2 separate regions of the Homo sapiens genome follow, and region 2 is linked to region 1. The links are contacts of gene promoters, found by promoter capture Hi-C in blood cells and fetal thymus (Javierre and others, 2016). All regions are on one chromosome and are shown on one strand. The core of a region is centred on a gene start or on the middle of the fragment in contact, and the rest is flanking DNA. Distances in the headings are between cores, read along the strand shown.

Region 1 (3,403 bases), core at 854-3,353:
TTAACTCAATGTCTCCCTCTGAAGGTGGGTCTGCCAGTTCCTCCCACCTCAACTAAGACAGTGTTGAAATTCAGGGGCAGATAGGCCAGAGTACTTCCCAGAGGGGCAGAATCCATGAGGACTCTGGGGCAATTCCTCTGTCTCCCCATGTCTTGGATTCCCCACCTATATGAAGAGCTGGGACGGCCCTGGTTCTGTGATCTTGGAACTGAAAAAGGCTTAACGTGCCTCTCCTTTGAGATCACAGTGTTTTCTGAGATCTGAAGCAGTGCACAGGTGCCTCTGCCACCCCCATCCCCATCACCAGACAAGGCAGTGGGCTCAGGGAGGTGGAATGGCTGGCCCGAGCCCCATAGTGCGAGGTGGAAAACGCGGCCCCAAGAGCTTCTATCTTGGTGAGGGTGTGAGAGAGTCGCCCTCAGCCTTAGACTTTGAGAGGAGCAAGGAACACGTTTCATGGACAATTATTTTGGTGGCTCCTTCTAAAACTAAGTCAGTGGGGGATCAATTATGTGTGACAGAGACATGGGCTATGATTTGATGCCTAATTAGAGGAATAATCAGATCTCATCCAGGCAGGAGGCACAGCAGATGCTGGCAGCAGCACCGTGGCTGGGGAATGCCCAGCTCCAGGGGTGTTCCCTCTGTGGGGAACAGGAACACAGTCCAGGGCCCATCTGTGTGCTGCAGTCACCCCTCTCTACAGACTCATCATGAGCCGAAGCTCCAACTCAGGTGACCCTGGGCCTTCTCAGGCCCCCTTCTCCACATACAAGGAATGCCTCTTGTTAGAGACAGAGGTTCCCTTGTGTCCACAGCCCTCCTCTTTGATGACTGGAGGTGGTTGTGCAGTCCAAGCCCTCTCCCTGAACTCTGTCCTCATGTTCAGAAGCCTAGCTCAGGTCCCTCCCAGCCACAGCATTCTGGGGAGCTCACTCCTGGAACCTGCCCTCAAGGGGCTCTCAGCCTACAGAGGAGATAGAACAAGAACAGGGCAGCCATGGAGGCAGGTGGAGGAACAAGAAGTTGAGCCTGGCAATATGAGACTGCAGATGCAGTGCAGAGAGGGGGCATCCAAAGAGAGGCCAGGGAGGCTGGCGACGGGACTCCGAGCAGGATTATGGGACCCTAGGAATTGTGCCCAGGTGCAGGGCCAGGCCGGGGCCATATTCTGAGACTGGGGGGTCCCCAATCCATAAAGGGCCAAATAACGCAATGAATGATAAAGGCTGGAACTGGGGGCCGGGGCAGGGCTCAGGGCTAGGCTGCATTGGTGACCACTGCCCAGCCTTGGGGTGGGGCATCCTGCAAGTAACTCAGACAGGCTGGGTGCAGGTGCTCAGTTCAGCGGATGGGAAGGCACCAACCATGACCCAGCCTCCCACTCCCGGCACCTAGCCCCTACCAAGTCCTCTTCTCTACCCTACCCCTTAGGTGTTTTCCTCCTGCCCACACCAGCACCACCACTGCTCTTCCCTTTCACTCCCAGTCGGGATCCCCAAGGTGGCTAGAAGGGTTCACTCTCCATTCCACTGGCCACTAAAAGGGGGGTGGGTACCAAGCCCACCTGAGGACAAGGGAGTCCCCTGAGATCAAGCCTCAAACTAGGACGCCCTCAGCCCTACCTGGGAGCCCAGAGGTGGACAGGATGGGGATGGGATGGGCAGGGGTAGGGAGCAGACTTGGAGGGATGCCTCTCCCTGTCCGCTTTCCATACCAGGTGCAGTTCCTGTCTCTTGAGCCTCCTGCTGTGTGTCTATCTCAGACTCCAAGCAGAGACCCCAGGTGCACCTCCAGGCCAAAGGGCAGAGCACATTACAGCGGGCCCTGAGCATGTGATCAGGAGTCTCCTCACATCCCTGGCTTCTGAACGACATGCAAAGCCACCAGCTCGTTCTTCCTCCTCAGGAACCAGCAGTGGAACCTGGGCTGACTGCCCGCTGGGCCCTGGGACCCAGACAGCCACTCACATTGCAACCTCATGAATAACTCAGCACCTCCCTGCTGCCTACATCTCTGAGGAGCCTGTGGCCGCTGGACCAACTCCCCCCTCACCCTGCCTCTCATTGCTTTAAATTTTCATAGGCTGAGGTTCAGTGGCAAGTAAGTGGCTCTAGGAAGCTGGGGCAGGATGTCCTGGGCAGGGGAGCTTGAACTCTCCTGGGTGGAGGCTGGCAGGGAAGGATCCTATGGAACAGGCCCAGCTCCCTAGAACTCTGGCAGCCAAAGCAGAAATGTAGCCAGACAGGAGTCCCAAGGGTGGGCTTCAGCTTCAGAGGGCTTTGAGAGAGGAAGAGTAAGCTGGGTGACCTCGTACAGATCCCTGGTCAAGGTGGGACTGGGGGGCCCGTAGTGGAGCAGTGGAATAGGACTGCAGATAAATCCCAGGGTTCCCCACCTATCATCTTACTGCCCAGAAACTCCTACCCTGAAGTTGGAGCGCCAACAAGGAGACATCCAAGAGCCCAGAAACTTCCAGGACTTTTCTGGGGCCAGACTGCACCGGCTGGAGGCAGTGCCCCGGGTGGGCCTGCATGGACATCCCCATCAGCAGCAGAGACTTCCGCGGCCTGCAGCTGGCCTGCGTGGCTCTCGGGCTGGTGGCTGGCAGCATCATTATCGGCATCTCCGTATCCAAGGCTGCAGCTGCCATGGGCGGTGTCTTTATTGGCGCTGCTGTTCTGGGTGAGCAGGGGCTGGGCTGGGATAGGGAAGGGAGATTCTGGAGGTGGGGGCAGGGGCATCGTCAGGTGAACAAGGAACAGGGAAGGGCTGGGTCAGCAGGAATCAGCTGGGGAGAACGGAAGCTAGAGGTGTGAGCAAGGCCGCCATCAGGGGCACAGGCGGGAGAGGAGCGACGCGCTGGGGCTCCTTCCAGCCACAGGGAGGAGAAAAGAAGGAGAGCTGGCCGTCACACTCTTTTCTGGCTACTCCCACTGGCTCTCCAGCCCCAAGCTCTAGGCTCCTGGATTTGTGGTGGGATTCATCAGCCTATCTGGGCGGAACAGGGGGTTGATGGCGGCAGGTAAAAGGACAGAGCTCCTGAGGACTCTCTGAGCCAAGACAGGCTCCAGCTCAGAAAAAGGGTTTCGTCTTCTTTCCCTGTTTGCCTCCACAGCAGCTGTGTCCATCTATCTGTGTGGGGCCACGCCCACTGATTGCCCCGCAGTGACGCTGAATGCCATCCCTCACCTCACCTCACCTCACCCCACCCCCCGCCCCCGCCCAGGCCAAAGGCAGGACCAGAAGCATCAGGCTAGGGGGCTTTAGGTATCTACACCTGCGGGTTCTGGCACAGATGCTCATCGGGGGATGGAGCGGGGGCGGGCAAGGCAGGACTGGCTCCACTGCTCCTGCTCCCCAGGTCTGGGTGGGGAGGAACATGCTGAGGACAAGCACCCAG
Region 2 (3,339 bases), core at 587-3,086, 66 kb after region 1:
GACAAAGTTTGAGGGAAAAACAAAAATCCCTAGCAAGCTCTCTTGCTGAGATGGAAAGTCCGGAGGGAAACAGGACCAAACAGGGAAAGGGAACACGTCCTTTAGGGAGGCCTGAGTGATGGGAAGCTTGATGTGCCACAATGTGGGTGGGTTTTAGTGATTTCACAAAGCCATTTTGAAAGTGCCACCGTCTAGACAGGAATCAATAAGTGGAAATAGTTCAGGGCCTTCCTCCTGGAGTCTCCCCACCTGCCTGCCCAGGGCTGTTGCTGACGCCTTCAAAGGGCTTAAAAGAAAGGCATCCCCTGAGGAACTGGGGACCTGTCCCCAGTAGACTTTCCTGGGCTGCTGGGACTAGGAGTGCAGGCAGTGGTGCATTTCTGGATGTGGTTTTATATTTGTTCGAATTCATTTTCCTGTGCTATGAGTATATGAATACATTTAAGTATATACTCCTATATTTGTGTGTAATATATGCGTATACACGTTTACATGTGAATGTAGACTGTGCTTATGTGGATTGTGTGAGTTTGTAAATTCCTAGGTGTGCGTGTGGTGTGTGTGTGTTTTGGGGGGAGATGTTTCTAAGTTGGACCAAGGGGGAGGTGGGTAAGGGGTGAGTTAATTTAGGAACTTGGGAAAACTAGGTGCTCACCGTTTCCAACTGGTCTGGAAATGCAAAGAACGCAGGGTCCCAGCTGTCTGCCCGGAACCACTTTAGGGGCCTAGGTCCCCTTGAAGTCCCAGGGCAGGCCCCAGCCCCACCATCGCTGGTCTCTGAGCTCAGTTTAGAGTAGCAATGTCAAACCCAACCACCCTACTCACACCCCAACTCTGTCTGTCTGTCTGTCTGTCTGTCTGTCTGTCTGTCTGTCTGTCTGTCCCTCTCTCTCTGTTTCTCCTTAGCTTCCCCCTCCACCCCCACGAAGGCTCCCTAGCAGCTCACAGCGAGGGTTTGGGGCGGGTGAGAGGGGTTGGCGAATGCCCCATGCGGCCGCCCTCTCAACCTCCAGGCGGGCAGGGGATGTCCTCGAAGAGCGGGAACACCTGGCTGTGCGGCTTGAGGGCCGGGGCCCCTCCCCGCCCCTTCCGGGCGGCCCACTGCCCTCTGCGTTCAGAGGAGGCTAGGTCCAGGTTCGGGTGGGGGACGCGGGTCTCAGTCCCCATCCTGGGCCCGCTCCCGCCCCAACGGCTGGCGCTCCCCGGGGCAGTGGCTGGGTGGTGGGCGGCTTAGACCTAATTCCGGAGTTAATGGCGGCGGCCGGGCCCCCCGCGGCCCCCTCCACCTCCCACCCCTACCCGGGGGCCCGGCCGCGGGCCGCCCGCATCTGCGCCGTCCGCAGCGATTCATCATCTTGATCCATGGCGCGCGCTGACGGCGGCCCCGGCCGCGCTGACAAGACTAACAAAGCAATTTGCCACGAGCCATCTCCTGGACAGGTTATTAGCGCGGCCGCCGCTTAAAGAGCCCTCCCCACTCCCACCCCCACCCCCAATCCCAGCGCAAGGCAGCTACCGCTCTGTCCCCGCCCTCCGACGGCTACTCCCCTTCACCGCTCAGAGATACCCCCGCTTGTTCCTGACCCTCTCCGACCACCCAAAAGTCACCCCCGCCCCCACCACACACACACACCCTGTTAGTTGCATGCACGTTCCTTCCTTCCCTTACTCCAGCCGCTACCTGCTCCACTCCCACCCTCCAACCCCGGTTCTTCAAATACCGCACGTGCTCCCAGCCTTTCCCCCAATACTCCCAGCCTTTCCCCCAATGCTACCTGACCCATCTCCTTCTCACCTCGAGAACTTGCTGACACCCAGAGGACCTCCTCATTTCTGCCCTCTCCACCCTCCTCCCGCCAGCCACCCCCAGCAGAGATTGGAAAACCCTATTTATTCGCAGCTTTGGAGTGGGGGGTCTCCTGTAGTGCCTTTGAGCATGCTGAGTTTCTTCTGACCACTCTTGCCCACAAGTAACTGTACTGTGAAGGGCAGGTAAGGTGGCCTTCAACTCCACTCACCCCGTGCCAGCTAGGGGGCAATGGCTCAGGCGCTCCTGAGCATAGTTCCAGCCCCCCAACCCACGTCTAGGCAGGCTGACTGCAGGAAGGCCAAGGCCTGGGCTTCCTCTCCGGTTGCACTTGCTCTGGGAAGTAAAGGAGACCAAGAGATAAGGAGTTCCCACTAAGCAATGCTCCTCCCACCTGGAGAGGCAGATGTGTAAGAGGGCTTTTGGCTGGATCTGGATCTCTCTCTCTCTCTCTCTTTTTTTGAGATGGAGTCTCACTCTGTCACCCAGGCTGGAGCTCAATGGCACGATCTTGGCTCACTGCAACCTCCATCTCCCGGGATCAAGTGATTCTCCCTCCTCAGCCTCCTGAGTAGCTGGGATTACAGGCGTCTGCCACCACGCCCAGCTAATTTATTTTTGTATTTTTAGTAGAGATGGGGTTTCACCATACTGGCCAAGCTGGTCTTGAACTCATGACCTCAAGTGATCCACCCGCCTCAGCCTCCCAAAGTGCTGGGATTACAGGCATGAGCCACCGTGCCCGGCCTGAATCTGTATATGTAATATGAGTATGGTACACGTTCTCATCCCCAAAGGCAGAGTGACTATTTGATGGTCCCAGACAGAAGTCAATTTTTTGAAGGAATTCTCTGGGTAGAGAGGATGTGGCCTGGTGCTTTAGATGTACTACACAGGTCTGTGTGAAGGGACTGGATGTGCACCCCTTCACTTGGGGAACACGCAAGTGTGTGTCTGACTGCATAAAGCCAAGTGTCATACGTTTGTGTACATTCACACATGGTAGGGGGGTCAAGTGTGTCCCCCTACATACATGTGCCGAGAGATTGCCTTATGTTTGTGTGCACTGAGGACTAAGTGTGCCCCTTGTGTGTACAAGGAGGCCTGGGAAAGGCCTGAGTGTGGCACATGTGTGAACATGCCTGTGTACACCTGGGGTAACTGGCCTTCAAACCAGGAAAGAGCCCCCACCTCCTTGTTCACTCTTCTCTCAAATCCAGCCTCAGCATTCCCAAACTGTCAGCCCCCACAGAGTGCTGGGGAGAGGCATGGCCCTCTGAGAACCTGGGAGGAGCTCCTGAGGGGTCCAGACAGAGGAGGCCCACTCTATCTTCAGGGCGGCTGGTCTTAAATCTCCACCCAGGTTGGTGCTGTGGGCCCAGGGTAGAGGCAGGGGGATGTACCATGTGCCAGGAGTCTGGCTTTTTTCTTTTCTTCCAGCCAACCAGGCCACGTCTTCACCCGAGGCGAGGCCCAGCTCTGTCGCTGCCTGCGCCACCACCACGTCCCTGACGTGAAATATGGGGGCGCAG

The links. Contacts are between HindIII fragments. The CHiCAGO score rates a contact against its expected background, and 5 or more counts as called.
Region 2: a contact is called between a fragment that was not itself captured here and the fragment with the promoter of KNCN in region 1, in 1 of 17 cell types (M1 macrophages). The highest score is 6.1, in M1 macrophages.

The regions. Positions count from the first base shown.
Region 1 is chr1:46,550,347-46,553,749 of GRCh38, reverse strand. KNCN (kinocilin) reads left to right here and starts at 2,103. Exons shown (of 4, transcript NM_001322255.2): 1 at 2,103-2,685. The coding sequence starts at 2,535. The region is part of intron 3 of MKNK1-AS1 (MKNK1 antisense RNA 1); the gene reads right to left. RefSeq lists an enhancer at 3,341-3,403. The HindIII fragment of the contact is 11,434 bases long and covers 1-3,403 here.
Region 2 is chr1:46,483,730-46,487,068 of GRCh38, reverse strand. No RefSeq gene overlaps it. Among named protein-coding and RNA genes, the nearest start is that of DMBX1, 4.4 kb to the left of the region's middle. RefSeq lists an enhancer at 1,021-1,568. The HindIII fragment of the contact is 3,415 bases long and covers 129-3,339 here.